6 separate regions of the Homo sapiens genome follow, and regions 2, 3, 4, 5 and 6 are each linked to region 1. Evidence: promoter capture Hi-C in 16 types of primary human blood cells and fetal thymus (Javierre and others, 2016). All regions are on one chromosome and are shown on one strand. Each heading gives the region's core, a stretch centred on a gene start or on the middle of the fragment in contact. The rest is flanking DNA. Distances are from core to core; before and after follow the strand shown. Region 1 holds the start of WSB1 (WD repeat and SOCS box containing 1). Region 2 overlaps LGALS9 (galectin 9). Region 3 overlaps KSR1 (kinase suppressor of ras 1). Region 4 overlaps KSR1 (kinase suppressor of ras 1). Region 5 overlaps KSR1 (kinase suppressor of ras 1). Region 6 overlaps KSR1 (kinase suppressor of ras 1).

Evidence for each region. Contacts are between HindIII fragments. The CHiCAGO score rates a contact against its expected background, and 5 or more counts as called.
Region 2: a contact is called between a fragment that was not itself captured here and the fragment with the promoter of WSB1 in region 1, in 1 of 17 cell types (neutrophils). The highest score is 5.4, in neutrophils.
Region 3: a contact is called between a fragment that was not itself captured here and the fragment with the promoter of WSB1 in region 1, in 12 of 17 cell types (non-activated CD4 T cells, activated CD4 T cells, neutrophils and 9 more). The highest score is 9.3, in non-activated CD4 T cells.
Region 4: a contact is called between a fragment that was not itself captured here and the fragment with the promoter of WSB1 in region 1, in 17 of 17 cell types (naive CD4 T cells, erythroblasts, fetal thymus and 14 more). The highest score is 16.7, in naive CD4 T cells.
Region 5: a fragment that was not itself captured here is called in contact with the fragment with the promoter of WSB1 in region 1 in 1 of 17 cell types (erythroblasts); the score reaches 5.6 in erythroblasts.
Region 6: a fragment that was not itself captured here is called in contact with the fragment with the promoter of WSB1 in region 1 in 1 of 17 cell types (fetal thymus); the score reaches 5.2 in fetal thymus.

What each region holds. Positions count from the first base shown.
Region 1 is chr17:27,292,582-27,295,595 of GRCh38, reverse strand. WSB1 (WD repeat and SOCS box containing 1) reads right to left here and starts at 1,482. Exons shown (of 9, transcript NM_015626.10): 1 at 1,161-1,482. The coding sequence starts at 1,200. MIR4522 (microRNA 4522) reads left to right here and starts at 1,600; the gene lies at 1,600-1,686. RefSeq lists enhancers at 1,204-1,263, 1,274-1,333, 1,704-1,753 and a silencer at 1,454-1,663. The HindIII fragment of the contact is 5,795 bases long and covers 566-3,014 here.
Region 2 is chr17:27,647,094-27,650,107 of GRCh38, reverse strand. It overlaps LGALS9 (galectin 9), which reads right to left. Exons shown (of 11, transcript NM_009587.3): 9 at 2,990-3,014; 10 at 2,676-2,838; 11 at 548-1,272. The coding sequence ends at 1,126. Among named protein-coding and RNA genes, the nearest start is that of LGALS9, 17 kb to the right of the region's middle. The HindIII fragment of the contact is 7,370 bases long and covers 1-3,014 here.
Region 3 is chr17:27,625,391-27,628,404 of GRCh38, reverse strand. KSR1 (kinase suppressor of ras 1) reads right to left here. Exons shown (of 21, transcript NM_001394583.1): 21 at 1,970-3,014. Among named protein-coding and RNA genes, the nearest start is that of LGALS9, 4.3 kb to the left of the region's middle. The HindIII fragment of the contact is 2,134 bases long and covers 439-2,572 here.
Region 4 is chr17:27,596,615-27,599,628 of GRCh38, reverse strand. It overlaps KSR1 (kinase suppressor of ras 1), which reads right to left. Exons shown (of 21, transcript NM_001394583.1): 10 at 2,193-2,361. Among named protein-coding and RNA genes, the nearest start is that of LGALS9, 33 kb to the left of the region's middle. The HindIII fragment of the contact is 3,652 bases long and covers 1-3,014 here.
Region 5 is chr17:27,575,622-27,578,635 of GRCh38, reverse strand. It overlaps KSR1 (kinase suppressor of ras 1), which reads right to left. Exons shown (of 21, transcript NM_001394583.1): 3 at 997-1,144. Among named protein-coding and RNA genes, the nearest start is that of LGALS9, 54 kb to the left of the region's middle. The HindIII fragment of the contact is 5,877 bases long and covers 1-3,014 here.
Region 6 is chr17:27,559,517-27,562,530 of GRCh38, reverse strand. The region is part of intron 2 of KSR1 (kinase suppressor of ras 1); the gene reads right to left. Among named protein-coding and RNA genes, the nearest start is that of LGALS9, 70 kb to the left of the region's middle. The HindIII fragment of the contact is 5,852 bases long and covers 1-3,014 here.

The DNA.
Region 1 (3,014 bases), core at 233-2,732:
CTTTTTTCTGTGTGAACTCTGCTACAATTTTTTCCCTTTTTTTTCTGTGTTTGTATCTTTAAAAATGGTTATTAAAACCAGGGTTAAAGTCCCTTCCTAATCAATCATCCCTAAGACAACAAAAGTCCAGAATTCTAAAACAGCTGTTTCTAGATATAAAAATTCACCCACATACAAAATAGTGCGCGTTTTGGCTACTTCAGCCTCTTCCCTTCTCTAGAAATAACTCCTCCTTGTACTTAGTAAAGGCACACATTCACTTCAAGAGTAGGAAAATGTAAATGCTCTCTGCTCAGCGGCCGCAGCTAATTATTACTTCACACAGTAAGATCAGTGTTTGCTAAGTGTTATCAGCCAATGTACAGCACCCCCCAACACCGTCAAACGTTGTTCCAGTTATTTTACTTTAAAAGAGGATTTAAATAATGCGACGTGCTTTCCACTGAGCCACTAAGTAGGTGTGGACGCACAACCTTCAACACTAATTGCCCTTTACTAAGCCGACCAGGGCTAGACACTAAGCCAGAAAAGCCTTTTCCAGAGTTTCCTCTTCCGCACAAAAGCTTTCCTTCTGTCACTCCACCCAACCACCCAGCTCCTCCCTTAAGTGTTTGAAAGATAATTCTAAAAGTCTCCTCCCCCGAACCGCTGCGTTTCTTAAGGCCACACCATTTTAAAAATACTGTATTGCTTTTGCCAGGCTGTTGGGACCTCTTCCATCTCATTTCTATCTAAGAGTGGTTGGTACACACGAGGACCCCCTCCTTTCATTACCGCTTACAACCCACAAGTTTACTTTTCCCCATTGTAAACCTAAAGTCCCTGAGTGGCCCTTCCCTGTCCACTCGACAGTCATGCCCTGAGCCAAGAACTCCCAGGACAAGAGCCCTGCGCGGACCTCCGACGAAGAAACCGGGGTCCTTGCCCGCCCCAGCCACACAGCAACCGCGAGGGAGCACAGTAGGTGCTGCATCCACGTCGGTGCCGTTTACCCCTCAGCCAACTCCCACCGAGGCGGCTTCCTCCTCCTCGCTAGTGGGCTGGCCCTGGCGCACTGGAGCTCTTCCCTCAGACTTGGAGTCGCTTCCTCCCAAACCTCCTCCGGGGAGTCCCTGCCTCTCCTCGGCCCTCATGCGCCCACCCACGGTCCCAATCCTCACCGATCTCTTTCTCGTTGACCCTCGGGGGAAAGCTGGCCATCTATGGGGCACCGTCTGATTCCGGGAATACGATGCGGACCCAACAACAGAGAAGAGAGTGGCGACCGCTGAGGGGCGTGACGCCAAGTTGGTCCCTCCCGGGCCCAGGGACAGAGGAGACGGGCGGGGGCGGCCGCTGCGGCTTCTGCTAACTGCCTCGGGAAAGCTCCCGAAGGCCTCAGACCAAAGTACGGAGTCAACCACAGACAATAGACCCTGTACCCAGCCTCGCGCCTGCGGAGGAAGACAGTTCCCCTAAAGCGCCGACTGCAAACGAGACACTGGAGTCAAAATGGCGGGCGGCGCCGGAGATATCTGGGCGGCAGGGGCGCGGCCACGTGACGTCACAGCCCGAGGCCCCCGCCTCCCGACGCACGGGACGTGATCTCCCCGGCCCGGCGCGGGCGTTGCCTGGGGGCCTCGCAGGGGGAGATCCAGCCCAGGCTGGTTCCGCTGACTCTGCCTGTAGGCCGGTGGCGTCTTCTGGGCCTGGATGGTCTAATATGGAGTTTATAAGCTGAAGTGGCTTTGAAAAGGGCAAGCAGAGAATTGTATTATTATTAGCCTCCTAGCTTAAAGATTGCATGGAACTTAAACTGGCTGAACCAAAAGAACAAAAAGACATTTCAGGTTTTCACTCAATTTGGCCAACTCCCCAGCCCACAAGTAATAGGGAACTGAAGGATGCACTGATGAAAAAGACAGGATGAAAATTAACATCGTTGTGCACCACCTGTCCAGCTGCGATTGTTCAGACCTGAGCCAGCAGGTTTTAGGAAGGGCCGAGGGGAACGAGAAGGAGACTCGGGCGTGATCGCGCCGCACCGCGCCGCGGGGCCTCTCTGGACTGCCTTTGTCCTGGCCAAGATGGATCCCACTGTCCTGGCCAAGATGGATCCCACTGTGTCAGCTCAGAATTGGCCCTTCCTCCACCTTACCTGAAGGCCTCTGGGAGGCACCTAGTTGTCCACACATCAGACTGATAAATGTGTCAGTATCTGCTAGATGCCAGCTTGGTTCCCGGTCACAGATGACGTATTTGCATTTTAATGGCTTCTCGTGTGGACCCTAAACATTGCAAAGGCCTGGGGCGTATAAGACTGGGAATTCAAATATGTGGCAGATATTCATGGGACAGAGTAGAGTGTTGCATAGCCGCTTTTTTTTTTTTTTTTTTTTTTTTTTTTGAGACGGAGTCTCGCTTCTCCCAGGCTGGGGTGCAATGGCGTGATCTTGGCTCACTGCAACCTCCGTTTCCCGGGTTCAGGCAATTCTCCTGCCTCAGCCTCCCCAGTAGCTGGGATTTGTACAGGCATGTGACACCAAGCCCGGGTAATTTTTGTATTTTTAGTACAGAGGGCGTTTCACCCTGTTGGCCAGGCTAGTCTCGAACTCCTGGCCTCGAGTGATCCGCCCGCCTCAGCCTCCCAAAGTGCTGGGATTACAACGTGAGCCACCACGCCCGGCTGCATAGCCGCTTTTAAGAGATCTCAAATGATAACACTGTAGGGCATGTTTACTTCATCTTTTCTTTGCATGAGTGTATTAATTCTTCAAATAGCGAAATGTTTAATAAAACATCGCCCCTCCTTTTTTTTTTTTTTGGTTATTTATTTATTTTTTTTTTTGAGACGGAGTCTTGCTCTGTCTCCCAGAGCAGAGTGCAGTGGCGCCAACTCGGCTCACTGCAACCTCTGCCTCCCGGGTTCAGGCGATTCTCCTGCCTCAGCCTCCCGAGTAGCTGGGACTACAGGTGGCTGCCACCACGCCCAGCTAATTTTTTTCATCCTTTTAGTAGGGAGGGGGTTTCACGAT
Region 2 (3,014 bases), core at 324-2,823, 350 kb before region 1:
GTGTTGGCATCACGTGGACGCGGAGCTGGGCTGTTGGGCAGTGGCCCAGTGGCTGGCAGAACCCCACACATGAACACTGAGCCACTTTTCCCACGCAAGCCCTAACCCCTAATGCCGGGGAGACCCACAATGGAACACACACCCAGACGGTGCTTCGGATCAGCTTCTCCTGACCCCCCTCCCCAAGCCACCTCCTCCCACTGGGACGCCAGGTCTGAGGAGGCAGCTCTGACCCTGCTGTGGCCCTCACAGGCTCTGCCCCAGCCCCTCTCCCATCTCGGAGGCATGGGGCTGTTTCCTGGTGTCCCCCATTACCACCCTTCCTGTGTCCGAGACTCCTGCCCAAAAGGCTAGAGCCCCAGCCTGCTTTCTCCAACACCCTCGTGGGATTTGCAAGAGACCCTCTGGGAGGAGGTGTGAGGTCAGGACCCCCTGCCCAAAGGGAGTCCATGCTTTCCCATCCCACTCCTCTCAGCAGCACCCCCGCCCGATTCCACAGACTCCAAAATGTCTCCAAATGAATTAAAGAAGCCATGGTCAACCCACATGAATGTGCCAACAAGCATTTTCATTTCTTTATTTTAAGGACACTGGGAAAGGAGCCAGTCCTCTGAAGAGAACACTCTGGTCAGGTGGTGGAGGCCAGTGGGAAGCCATCAGGCCTGCTTTCCAGGAGGGGTGAAGGGTTGGTGCACGGTGCAAGGTGAGAGTGAGGTTAAAGGTCAGAGAGGAGGGGCTGAGGAGGCCACCTCCCACCAGGAGCAGACAGCTGGTGGCTTGGGACTGGGGTGGAGCTGCGTGGGGGATGGGAGGGGACTGAGCATGGGGCTTCATCTTCACTGCCCACTCCTCCCCTCTCCCTGGCTGTGCCTGCCTCCTGGGATGGTAGGATTCCAGCAGCTGGAGCCCCAGGTGCTGCTGCGGCTGAGGAAGGCAATCCCCGTCAGCTGCCTTCTCCGTTCCAGGGTGGCTGTAGCCAGAAGCAGGACCAGACAAGGACATGGCCTCTGCATTAAAGCCCAGATCCCAGGCAGGGTTGGAAAGGCTGGGCCTGGGAAGTGGGGATGATGAGAGGACCCAGACTGCCCCACACCCCAGCCCCCGGCCCCAGGGCCAGGAAGCCGCCTATGTCTGCACATGGGTCAGCTGGATGTCGCCCCCCACTTCCAGTCTGTTGATGGTGGGCAGGTTCCTCAGGCGATGGTAGTATTCAAACAGGTGCTGACCATCCACGGCCACCTTGAGGCAGTGAGCTTCACACAAGATCCACACCTGTGCAGAGATCATGCCGTTTGCACTACACTTGGGAAGTCCTCCACCCTCACTGCAGCCTCCTCTCTCCCTCCCTCCCACCCTCCCTCCCTCCTCAGTTGTTAATAAGCCCCTCACCTGCACTCTATCCCCACTGAACGACGGCTCTTCACTAAACAGGCTGTGCGTGCTCTTTCCCCTGTACTGTTCCCTGGTCTAGAATACTGTTCCCACCCCATCAGGGACAGGAGCACTGGCCTGTGCCGTCTGTATCCCTCAGGCCCAGCACACAGGAGTGCTCTGGGCCTGGGCTCCTGCAGCATCAGTCTCCTAACTTGTCTTTTCCACCCCAATGCCTTCTCCACGAAGCAGTCAGGGTACAAATGTTAAAACCTCCTTCCCTTTGCAATAGCTAACACTCCTATCACACATGCCACCTGCCAGGCACTGTCCTAAGCATACTACAGATACTGTCTCATTCCATTCTTACAACTCTAGGAAATTCATGATTATTAGCTCCATTTTGTAGATGAGGAAACTGAAGCACAGAATAATTAAGTCACTTGTCCGAGGTCACACAGCTGTCTACAAATCAAAGTATGTTGCTCCCTGGCTTGAAACACTCCTGAGGCTTTTCACTGTGTTAAAATCCAAGCTCCTTTCCATGGCTGCAAAGCCCTACATCAGTCATTTTCAACTCTGACTGCAGAGTATAATCACTTAAGGCATATTTTTAAAATACGAATGCCCAGCTGACTGCCTCATTGGCCTGGGCTGGGGTCCCAGCACTGATATTTCCTTTGTAAGCTCTCTGGGTGATTTGAATATGTAGTCAGGGTGGAGCACGCCTGCCTGCTGTTCCTGGACAGGCCACACCCGTGCCTCTGCACGTTGGCCCTAGCTGCCCCTCCCAGGCTCGCTCTATCTCATCGCTCTGTTTTGCTTTGTGCGTGGCACTGTCGTTATCTGTGACAATCTGTCCATGCTTTACTTTCCTTGTTCTTTCCCCACCTAAATTATAAACTCCCTGGAGGCAGGACCCTGTCTGTGTGCTTCATGACTGTGCCCCCAGCATGTGGGGTGCTTCCTGCGCAAAGCAGGCGACAAGAAAATGGTTGTTGAGTAAATGAAGAAATGAATAACACCTCCTTCTTGGGTCTGATTTGACACTTACTGACTGTGTGACCACAAGCAAGTAACCTGCACTTGTGAGTTTGTTTCCTCATCTGAAAAAGCAGATCCCAGCACTTCCTTCATGCGGGACAGTAATAATAATAATAATTTGTTGGCCACCTTCTCTTCTTTTGGGCCTTCATCCCAGAGGAATCAGCCCCCATACTGTTCAAGGTACCTCAAACCTCCTTTACCCCCTCCCCCTGTGCACCCATGGGAGCCTCTCCAAGCTCCAGACTGCGGTGCCTTACTGAGAAGCTCTGGCCACGGACGAAGGGCATTTTTCGGGGCAGACTTCGCTCCTCAGACCCCCAGGAGTTGTCGATCTGGGTGTTGCGGACCACAGCATTCTCATCAAAACGGGGGTTCAGGTGGAAGGCGATGTGGTTCCCAGAGCACAGGTTGATGTGGAACCTGGGGTGGGCAGCCCACCTGAACCTTTATCCACCGAATTCTGAGTCCCATTTCCTCCCCATCATCAGTAGCCTTCCTGAAGCCAGGGGAATGGCTGGACTGACCTTGAAGGGCTCTCTCTTCCCAGAGGTCACTGGAGCCCTTGGCTTACCTCTGAGCACTGGGCAGGACAGTGC
Region 3 (3,014 bases), core at 256-2,755, 330 kb before region 1:
AGGGATCTTTTCAAAATGTGAGTCTGCCACCTCACACTCATTAGGATGGCTGTGATTAAAAAAAAAAAAAAAATCCAGGAAATAACAACTGTTGGCTAGATTGTGGGTAAACTGGAACTCTGTGAAAACAGCATGGCTGTTACTCAAAAATCTCAACATAGAATTACTATATGATCCAGCAATTCCACTTCTGGGTATATCCCCCAAATAACCAAAAACAGGAACTCAAAGAGACATGTGAACACCCATGTTTGTAGGAGCATCATTCACAAAAGCCAAGAGGTGAAAGCAACGCATGTCCATCAATGGATGAGTGGTCAACAAAATGTGGGCCAGACATACAATTCTATAGATAGTACAAATAGCCCACGTTTGAATCTTGGCCCTGTCATTTAATTCTTGTGTGATCTTCAATAAGTTCCTTAATTTCTCCAAGCTTCCTTTCCTCACCCATAAAATGAGGCAAATGAATGTGAACCTTAGAGAGATGCTGTGGGGATTAAATGGGCTAATGCATGAAAAGGACTTGGGGCTGAGCTCCGCACGTAGTGCCCACACACCAGCACCTTTAGAGTCACTCCTGGACTGCACTGATCCTGCGCCCAGACCCATTCACCTTCGCCAGTAGTAGACTTCCTCAAGAAGGAATCCTTCCATCTGCAGTGACACCTCCAGCACAGAGGGCCTCGGCAGGGCAGTCAGTGATGCCCGCAGACACCTGAGTCCTGTCGTACAATGCAGGGGGCCCTGGGTCGTCTTGTCCAGTTCCCTTTGGAAACCTCATTGTATTGGTACAGCCGTACTGAACCACATTAATCACTAAAACATGCATGCACATCCCCCCCACTGAGAACATTCTCTTTGAGCGTATTCTACCTCCATAAAGTCAGATATATGGTTCTAACTGCTTCCTAATGGCAAATTAACAGTGCAACTCTCTCCTGTAAACAGACTATGACAAAACAGTACTTGGTTTGCCTCACTCAGTAAATCCAGTAGTAGTTTAAGGCAGCAGTCACCAAACTTTTTGGCACCAGGGACCAGTTTCATGGAGGGCAATTTTTCACGGATGGAAAGGGATATACAATGATTTCAGGATGAAACTTTTCCACCTTAGATCATCAGGCATTAGACTCAGATTCTCCTAAGGAGCGCACAACCTAGATCCTTCACATGTGTAGTTCACAATAGGGTTTGTGCCCCTATGAGAATCTAGTGCCGCTGCCTAACTTCATCCTATTGTGGTTGGAGAAGATGCTTTGTATGTTATGTTTAAATCTATTGAGACTTAATGTGTGGCCTACCACGCGGCCTATCCTGGAAAATGCTCCACAACCTAGCACTGTCTTATGAACATAGTAGGTGCTCAGTAAATGTCTGACCAGCAAATTCCTAGACTTCTGGAGAGATTCTGGAGTGAAAGCTGTGGCCTGAGTCCTGGATTGGCCACCCTGCAGCTGTGTGATCTTGGGTGAATACCTTAACCTCTCCGTTTCTCATTTTCCTCAGCTGAAACATCACAATTCTTACCTCATGGCCTTGTGAGGATTAAAGTGAGATGGTGTTTAGAAAGTACCTCTTCTCCACCTATCTGTATATATAACTGGCAATGAGGGGCTCCTAGATATTGGATTCAGATGAACACCACCTCATCCCTCCAAGGCTTCCATAAGGCTAAGGCATCTCCAGCTCAGGAGATGCTGGGCCTGCTCATGGCTTTGTTGCTGCTGGGGCCTGGATGATCTTCCTCTGCGCATTGTGGGCCATTGACGCTGTGCCTTCTCCATTCCTCCATCTGTTTAGAAACACCTGCCACTGAGGTCCTGGCATAACTTCTTCCTTTGGAAGGAGCTCCTTAATCTATAGACCAGGGGTTCAGTCACCCCAGACCTATCCATTCCCATGCCACCCATCCAAATGGTCCCCAGGACTCAGCTGGAACTGACCAAAGCAAAGACAAGCCCCAGAACACCTTGGTATAACTTTATTCACAAACTCCAGACACCCAGGCCTGGCTTAGCACAGAGGGCATGTTCTTGCCAGTGGCAAAAAAACCCGATACAGCATGTTTGTTAATACTAACCATTTTAATTTAAATTAATAGCATGTCTGGAAGACAAATGTAGTTGATAGAAAATATAAAAACTTTACTGTACAAATTTTACATCACATTCAAAAAAAGCAAGTGTGTGGCTTGTGGCCACAGAAGATGCTAGGTTTGCACGCTGATGAGATCCTGGCTAACACTGCTGCATAGCACAAACTCCAACTGGCTTCACATTTACGTCTCCACCCTCCCCCCACACCAAATCAACACAGAATAACACAGGTTTCCAGGGCTTGCCATTCCTCTCTGTGACCTCAAGAGGAAATGCCGTAGGATGACAGAGGGTGTTTTGATTTGGTGACATGGAGAGATCAACTTTGCTACACACTGCTCACAACCCCAAACTAGCTAGGATTCAAGACTTCGAGTTAGACAGAAACCCAGGGGGCTGCGGCTCTGGTGGTTAAAGGCAGCAGGGCTTCAGAGGTGAGGCTGGAAACTGGGGATGCCTGGAGGGCCAAAGCTTGGGCTCCACTCTCAGACCCCCGTGGGGACTTCCGCAGCCCCTAAGAGCTCTCCCCGAGCCCTCCCAGCCTTCTCCATCCCCTTCACAGTTGGCCGTGAGGGCTGAATTCACAGTATCTGTCATCCTTCGTGTGGAGAGAGCACACAGAAGGGCAGGTGTGCCTTCCTAACCTCAATTCACAGTCACTGAAATACAAGGGGAACAGAGGGGGCCATCATGGGGTGGGGTGGGGTTCTTTAAAGGCAGGCAGTGCAGAGGTGGCAGGCTGAGAGCCAGCTGCCCCCAGTCCTTCAGTTCCACCTTTGGGGCCCAGTGGCTTCTGGGTTCCTTGAAGACAACAGGGCCCCACCAGGTCATCAGTTCCTTAAGAGCAGGGACCATGACTGTTCCTATCTCTAGGTGCCCAGCACTTGCAGAAGACCAAGTGCACTGTAGTTGCTC
Region 4 (3,014 bases), core at 367-2,866, 300 kb before region 1:
TGTACAGGAATTCTTCCAGAGCAGCTTCCAGTCCCCTACAAATAAAGAACAATTGACTGATTGACTGATTTAGAGACAGAGTCTTGCTCTGTCACCCAGGCTGGAGTGCAGTGGTGCAATCTCAGCTCACTGCAACCTCCACATCCTGGGTTCAAGCGATTCTCATGCCTCAGCCTCCTGAGTAGCTGGGACTACAGGTATGTGCCACCACACTTGGCTAATTTTGTATTTTTAGTAGAGATGGGGTTTCACCATGTTGGCCAGGCTGGTCTTGAACTCTTGGCCTCAAGTGATCCGCCTACCTCGGCCTCCCAAAATGCTGGAATTACAGGCATAAGCCACTGTGCCCAGCCCTATTTTTAATATTTTATGCTGTATATTTACTGTAGCTTTTCTGTGTTCAGATGTTTAGATACACAAATATTTAGCATTGTGCTACAATTGCCTACAATATTCAGTACAGTCACATGCTGCATAGGTTTGCAGTCTAGAAACAACAGGCTACACCACACAGCCGAGGCGTGTGGAGGACTATACCATCTGGGTTTACGTAAGTGCGCTCTATGATGCTCACGTAACAATGAAATCACGGAATCTCTCTCTCAGAACATTTCCCCGTTGTGAAGCAGCACGTGACTATAATCTTTTCCCAGGTTTACCCCTGAAGTTCAAGTGCAATGCCCCTGCACAGCACAGAGCAGGGGACGATAGGAGGCGTGCCTTCTCCAGCTGAACCACCGGGCCAGCCGGGCGGGCAGTGGGGGTTGGGGGGAGGGTTGACCCATTGGTGCTGCCACGACCAAAGAGACAGGATCTTGGAGAGAGTGAGGCCTCTGTGCAGGGGACGATGAAGGCCCAATCTGGGGACATCAGGGAAAGCAGCAAGGGTCTGGCTGATTGTGCAAAAAGAACTTTTTCTGTGACTGCCGTGTTCCAAACACACCCTTTGCTTTTACAAAAACCCAAACTGGGAGGTTTAGCAAAAGGCACAGTTTCAGAGCATAATAAAGACAGAGCAGAATGGGAGAGGAGGTTAATCAAATGGGCCATCACTCAATGCAGGGAGGGGAGGGGTGTGCTCAGGACAACGCGTGAATGTCAGGAGATATCCAGCCACGTGCGTGCTGAGGTGAAGGCAAAGAGAGAGATTCCTACAAGATCTCCGTCTCCACCGTCCCCAAAAGAAGTCCCAGGAGAAGCTCCCTGGCCTCCTGCTGGCTGGGTATGGCTCCAGCTGGGGATCTCCTGGCACAGGGAGAGCTGTGCCTGTCCTCATGGACCTGGAGCTCCAGAGGCCAGAGACAGGGGCCTGACCTGGACTCTATGGGCTGGAGACGGCCTGTGGCTGGGTCCAGAGCAAACAGGAGTGTCACAGTCACCTTCCTTCCTCTGGGACTGCGAACTGTAATAAACTGAAGGCTGAGACTGACTCTGAGGAGCTGCCAGGGAGGCCGAGGCAGCAGCTCAGTCCCAAAATGGGCAGGTGGGCTTCACTCTGCTGCTTGGAGAGGCAGACACCCCCAGGCCAGCAGCTGAGGGCAGGAGAGGCTGGAATCCTGACCTCTCCCCACAGACACCAGGCAGTGGGCTGGGGTGGAGCTGGAGGTCAGCTCTGGCTCAGGTCTACTCTGCTTTAAACTCCTGTGGGACTCAGTGTCTTCATCCACACAATGGGAACAACCTAATTCCAACTTTACATGGTCACCTATCTTATAAAGGGAACGAGAGGTCTCCTTGAAGGAGCTTACCCAGATCACGAGTGGGAAGCAGCAGGACCCCAGATTCCCTCCCTGAGGCCTTCTAGCTCCCTGTGTTGCTGGCCATGCCTCCTGGGAGCTCAGAAGCCAGTCCCGAGAAAGTGAGCACTGCCCAGGAGAGGCCACCCCATGAAGAGGAGGGCAGTGCGAGGATTATGTTATGTCAGACAGACTTGGGTTTGATCTCCATTCTGCCACTTACAGGCTGTACAACTCATGGCAAGCCCCTCCCTCTCTCTGAACCTCAGTATTCCCATCTGTAAAACAACAGCATCAACCTCAGAGCTATTGTGCTTGGGGCGCCGGACAAGTACTTCATAAACATCAGCTCTTAGCTGTGGCCATGTCTGACCTTGAATCTGCCGAACTTGGGTCTGCTGAGAAGGGGATCTGACTGTATCCCTTAGAACCCAGAAAAGCCTGGAGATGTGGTACCTGGGAAGTTGAACCTGCTGTCCCGCTGGCCAGGTGAGGGGTTGGGGGGCGTGGTGGCGCTGGATGGGTTGGATGATGTCGGGAAGGGCGCCGGTGAGGAGGGTGTGGAGGAGGTGGTGGAGGAAGGGTTGCTGCTGGAGTCCAGGTGATTCATGGCCGGAGGGTGCTCCTGCAGGACCAGAGATGTTGGGAATGGCAGGGCTGTCCTGGCCCCACCTGCCTCCCACCAGCCACACCCTCCCTTCCCCATCTGGAAAGGAAGCAGTCAGCCCAGGGAATCCTCAGGGTCTGACATTTTACACATCTAACATTTGAGGAAGGGCAGCGCACAGAGGCCCTCGCCTCAGTGCTCACTCCCCGGGGGGCTCCTGCTCAGCTTTCTGATTTCAGCTCAAGCACACTCTTCCCAGAAGCCTTTCCTGCACCCTGGCTGGGACCACGCTCCTCCTCTCCATCCTGGCACAGTTCCCAGCAGTTTTTCATCAGGGCACCGTGTCTACTGCAGATGTCCACGGGCACTTTCCTGATGAAAGTCTCTCCCACTACCTTGTGTGTTCCATGAGGCCAGGGTGACCGTCACATACTCAGTGACTGGCTCTGAGCTGGGCACACATTAGCATTTTATAATGAATTAAGTTCAGGCTCTGATAAATGTTATATCATGTCTGCTAGGCACCAGGCACTCTGCCAGAAGTAGGGAGACCAATGATAAGCGAGAGGTGTACAGTCCTTTTCTTTGGAAACCTGGCTGAATCAAAGGCACTGTGAAGTCTTAGAGTCAAACTACAAAACCCTGAAAGAGGTGATGGCTTGGGCTAGTGC
Region 5 (3,014 bases), core at 157-2,656, 280 kb before region 1:
ACCAATCGCCATCAGGGCCCAAGGTTCAAATTCTGGCTCAGCCACCAACTGCTGTGTGCCCTTACCCAAGCCCTTTCCCTCTCTGAGCTCAGTCTCCTGTAATATGTGAGAACAAGAACACCAGCCACACTTCTGTTGTGTTTATTTTCAGCATCTGCCGGGAGACCTGGCAGGTCAAGATTTTCTGAATTGAGTGCAACTTTCTACACTGTGCCGTGTTCAGAGGACTTGATACAATGAGGGCAGAGAGGAAATTAAGCCCGATCCTCTCTGGGAAGAAAAAACCAGGCAGAATATAAACCTTGGTGCCTTCCTTAAGCCTCAGGCAGACGGAGATAAGACAGGGGCCTCAGATAATTAAAAACCAGGCCTGATTCCATTCATGAGGCTTATTTTAATGCCTTATCTATGTGGTAGTGGGACCATTAAGTCAGGCATTTGAAGCTGTTTCCGACGCAAGATTTAGAAAGCCTGTGAATAATTCCCAAGGACCTCGTGGCAAGGCCAGGATTACACACTTTGCCTGGGACAGCCACGTACACACTCCCAGCTAAAGAGCCATAGAGTTTCCCTAATCACCCTTGGCTCAGGCCCACATCAGCATGTGCCTTCTGAGCACAGAACCCAGCCAGCAATGGGGACAGGAGAAGACGGGGAGAGGGCTGGGGGCTGGAATGTGGGAAGCTGGCAGAGGGTACACAGAGCCCTCAACAGAGAGGAAACCATGCCAGGCCAGCCCAGCCCAGCAGACAGGCCTGGGATTTCTAACCATGGCTGAAACCCCTCAGATTCGGCCTGGCCAGACCCACCAGGATCCAGAGCCCTGAGGACCCTGGGAGAGCTTCTCAGGAGGCTGTGAACATCCAACCCTGGCCTTTCCAGGCTGCCCCAGAAACCCTGGGCCACGCTTGCCCCGCTCCATCACCCACCATAGTGAAGGCCACAGCCCCAAGGGCACCAGGCCAGGCAAGGGAGAGGGTGGCAGGCCCCACGTACCCAGGCCTGTCACCTTCCGCAGGCAGGTGAGGGCATACTGCAGACGGCCACACTCATCCCCGCTGGCCCCACAGCGCCGCAGCGTCTCCTTCACCTTGGCCTCATTCATCTCCAGCAGGGCATCCAGCGTGAGGTCTCGGGGGATCTCCTAAGGGGACAGAGGGACAGGCAGAGAGGCGGTGAGCAGTCGGCTGGGCCGGGAGCCCCTCAGCCTCAGGCTGGCCTCCTGCTGAGTGGCAGGGGCCAGCTGCTGGCTGGGCCGGCCTCTGACCAGAGCCACCACGTGCTTGGGGACACAAGCAGAGCTCCCTGGCCCCCACCCTCCAGGCTCCCAGAGACAGCAGCTGAAGCAGACTCGGTGGGGGGTGAGGGGAGGAAGTAAAGACCAGAAAGGTTTGGACGAGGGCATGTTGCCCAGCTTGTTTCTTCTTACTCCTCTGCACAGAAAAAAAACAGCGAGTCATAACAACTTTTTAGAATGACGAGTACTTCAGACAAAGATGGCCCTTCACAATTTTGTTGTATCTGAATCAGATAAGAGAGATTTCAAATCAAACTGGCTCAAGAAAGGAAGGATTTAAAAAAAAAAAACAAAAAAACCTCACCAAACACTGCAGAGGCACTTACTGCCTCACCTGATTTCTATCAAAACTTTTCACTGGCCCCACCTGACAGATGAAGAAAGAGGCTCAGAGAGATTATGTCACCTGCACGAGGTCACTAGGCCATACGGTGAAGAAAGTGGCAGGCAGAATTTTAAGGTGGTCTTGTGACCTTTGTCCCCTGGTGTTGCTCCTGATCTTGTTACATTACAGAAGTCTCCCTCTTATCTGCAGTTTCAGTTACCAGCAGCCAACCATAGCCTAAAACTATTAAATGGAAAATGCCAGAAACATTCCAGAAATAAACAATTTATAGTTTTAAACTATGCACCATTCTGAGTAATGTGATGAAATCTTGCGCCATCCAGCTCCATCCCACCGGAGACGTGAATTGTCCCTTTGTCCAGCGTCTCCACACTGTCTCCACTCCCGGCCTGTTTGTCACTTAGTAGCTATCTTGGTTATCAGATCAACTGCCACGACCTCTCCCCACATAGGCACTTTATCATCTCACAGCATCACAAGATGAGGGGTGAGAACAGTACAGTAAGATATTTTGAGAGAGAGAAGAGAGACCACATTCCTGTAACTTTCATTATAGTGTATTGTTATAATTGCTCTATTTTGTTATTGTTGATTATTAATCTCTTACTGTGCCCAACTTACTAACTTTATCAGAGGTATGTATGTATAGGAAAAAACACAGTATACATCATATATATATATATTCAGTACTATCCATGGTTTCAGGCATCCACTGAGGGTCCTGGAACATATCCCCTACAGAAAAGGGGGTATTACTATATACAGCAAAAGGGAAATTATCCAAGTAGGCTTCATCCAATCACAAGAGCCCTTTAAAAGCAAAGGGTTCTCTTGAGCTGGTAACAGAGAAGTCAAGAGACCTGAAGCGTGAAAAGCAGACTTTGAAGGAGGAGGGGAATGGGGGTGGCCTCTGGGAAAAAAAGTAGCCCCTGGCTGACAGCCATTGAGGGAATGAGGACCTCAGACCTCCAGCCACAAGGAAATGGATTCTGCCAATAACCTGAATGAACGTGAAGTGGATTCTTCTCCAGAACTTCCAGGTAAGAGGAAGGCCTGGCCTACACCTTGACCTCAGCCTTGTGAGATCCCAAGTAGGGATATAAGCAGAGCCTGAGTGGATTCCTCCACCTAGAGAACCATGAGATGATAAGCGGGTGGTGTGTTAAGCTGCTAAATTTGTTATGAAGCAATGGAAAATACAAAGAATGAATGGTAGAATCAAGGCTCAGTGGACTTCAAAACTTGTGCCCTTTCCTCTCATCAGGGAGGGAGGAAACCTCTCCAGCTCTGACTACTTTGAGCCACATGACACTGTCAGAGGCACTGGAACCAGAGCCATTCCATCTTGAATAGGGGCTGGGTAAAATGAGG
Region 6 (3,014 bases), core at 349-2,848, 270 kb before region 1:
AGCCATCTCATGGCAGGGCTATAGGCACACAGTCCTGCTCAAGTTCTGTGGCCGACAGAAGCCTGAGGCAGTTTCGGAGCCCTGGGATTCAGCAGGCCACCGGCAGCCACCTCGTCTTCACCCTCCCCAGAGATCCTTGTAACGCAACCTTCACTGGCCCAGGTGAGAGCTCCTGAGACGCCTTGGGCCAAGAGACCAAAATTCTTTGGATAATGTTATTTGAATCCAATCATTCAACAAGAAAACCCACCACATGCCAGGCACTGGGGATAGAGCTGTGAATGAAATAGCCAGGTCCCTGCCAACATGGTGCTTCTAGTCTAGTCAGTTTTCACTGGACTGGGCAGCCCAGAAATCCAAAGGATTGATCAAAAACACCAAGCAAGGCCGGGCCTGGTGGCTCATGCCTGTAATCCCAGCACTTTGGGAGGCCATGGCGGGCAGATCACTTGAGGACTAGAGTTCAAGACTAGCCTGGCCAACATGGAAAAAACCCGTCTCTACTAAAAATACAAAAATTAGCCGGGTGTGGTGGCATGTTCCTGTGGTCTCAGCTACTCAGGAGGCTGAGGCACAAGAATCACTTGAACCCGGGAGGTGGAGGTTGCAGTGAGCCAAGATTGCGTCACTCTACTCCAGCCTGGGCGACAGAGCGAGACTCTGCCACAAACAAACAACAGACAAACAAACAAACACCAAGCAGTACAGGACTAAGCAGGACATTCATGCTCATGATTTTTCAGATTTCATGAAACCAGGGGAACCCCCACCCTGAAAAGTGGGTACCTTTGGCTCAAGATAAGAAAAATTAATGACTTCATCTATTGGAGAAAGTGATGTCTGCCAGTTCCAGAAGGACAGGAACTCATGTTCAGTGGCTAGAACAGTGCCGAGCACACAACAGGTGCTAAATACACACTGAGTGAGTGAATAAATAACTGAATGGAAGTAGGACCTCAGCTCTGTACCTGACCATGCTTCATCCCTTCCCCGCTCCTTGGGGCCAGCAGTCAGCTACGCACCCTAGTTATTTGCAGACGTGTGCATCACACTAGCTGTAAGCATCCAGGACAGACTATTTTGCTCATCAATTAATCCTCTGTGATAATTAATCAAGGTACCAGGTAAAAGGTAAGTGATCAATGGGTGCATATGAGTAACGAGTGAATGTAAAGGAAAGAAGAAATGAGGGGGGAAGAGAGAGACACACGTGCACACACACAAAGGCAGGCAGTCAATTCATTTACACAACTACATATCATACAGTAGCCCCAAAACTGTGCTATTCTGGGTAAGATATTAGATGACAAAATTGTGTATGAGAAGGAAGTACAAGGACCTGGGTTTGAATCTTCATCCTGCCATCAGCTTGCAGGGGATCATCAGATCTCCCTGTCTCCTGTCCCAGGGATAAGGATGAAACAGGATGACATCTATACAATGCTGGCCTTGTAGCTTGCCCCTTCCTTCCATGCTCCAACTTCAGCTCCTCTCCTGACTGGCCAGGTGATACAGGCATGCCAGTCCACCACTTGCCACCATTTCCCCATCCTAAGTGGAGAGCTGTGTGGCCCAGCCCCCACTGGGCTGGTACCAAGGCAGCCCTGTGCTGCTGGGCTGACACATTGGCACAGATCCCTCCAGGAGGCTGGGTGAGGGTGTGTGCTGCTTCCTGGGGAGGCTCCCAGTTGCCAAAGAGCAAGGTTGTAAGAACAGCTGGGCCTCTGGCTCTCAAAGAGAGAGTATGGGGCCGACAGGAGGAGGGGTGGGAAGGAGAGGCTAGGAATGAGGGCCATAGTCATGCCGACTCAAGCTGCACCCCAGGAGCCAAATGCGGGTTCGCTTTCCTGGTTAGGTCTCACACATCCTACTGCCTCATACAGCCTACATTCCTGGTGTCCACACAGAGCTCTGGCCACCCCCAGCCACTGGGAAACCAAAATGGTGGCAGGAGTAAGGCAGCTTTGTCCCCCATCTCTGGGAGAAGGCCTCATCTTAAACACAGGAACGCAAGGGTAGAGGAGAGCGGAAAGAGAAACATGTCCAGTCAGGATCACAACAAAAATCCCCTTACCAGATCCGCCTGCATCTTCAGTTCAGGAACCACCAGCAGTAAGAGCTTATTCAGGGGAACCTGTGGCTTTCACCCTGGAATCCCAGACTCTGCAGCACCCACCTCTCCCAGCTAGAACTGCTCAGGCAGCGCTTGCCACTTCCTTTCAACAACTTCCAACCGGGAAATTGCTAAAGAAAAAAAAAATGGCTCCATGCCAGCAGGCTCTGAAATCATTTCCCCAGCTGCTGCCAGAATATGAAGCTGAGACTTTTAGACGTAACTTGTGGGACAGGGGGCCGCTTGAAACAGCCATAGTGTGCAAATCCAAATGACTGGGAGCGGGGCAGGGCCCCGCCTCTGAGCTCCCTCCCATCTCATTTCCTATCCCCGACCCTTCCACCCTCCAGCCACGTGGGAGGCAGCGCTCCTCACCCCGTCACTCTCAGCCCATCCCCATGTGAATGCAGCCTTCTTGCTAGTTTTATTTTCCTTTAAACAATTCTAATGTTCATTTGGAATTCCTGCCCCTCTCTCACACACACTTCCAATATCCCCTAAGAGGAGCCCCAACCCCTACACTGCACACAGGGAGAGCTGCAGGAATCCACCCCGGCTCCCCGCCAGCCTCCTCACAGACTCCTCCTCACGCGCTTCACAAGCGCTCTGATTTCCTCATCCTCAGGGTCTCTGCAGATATTCTTCCCTCCGCCTGGTGTGCTCTTGCCTTCCCGGACATCCGTCTTTCCCTGACTACCCAGGATGAGTTGGCCCACTGGCTCCAACAGATCCCATCCCGGAGCCATCAGGGCATCTGGGGCTCTCACTTCCTGTTTCACCCCAGTCTGTGTGCTCCTGGGGCAGAGGAAGGTGTCTTCAGCATCCCAGCTCTCACCACAGGGCCCTGGTCAATGCAGTCATAGCCAGATGTCTATTCAAATTAAAATTCATTACGATAAAA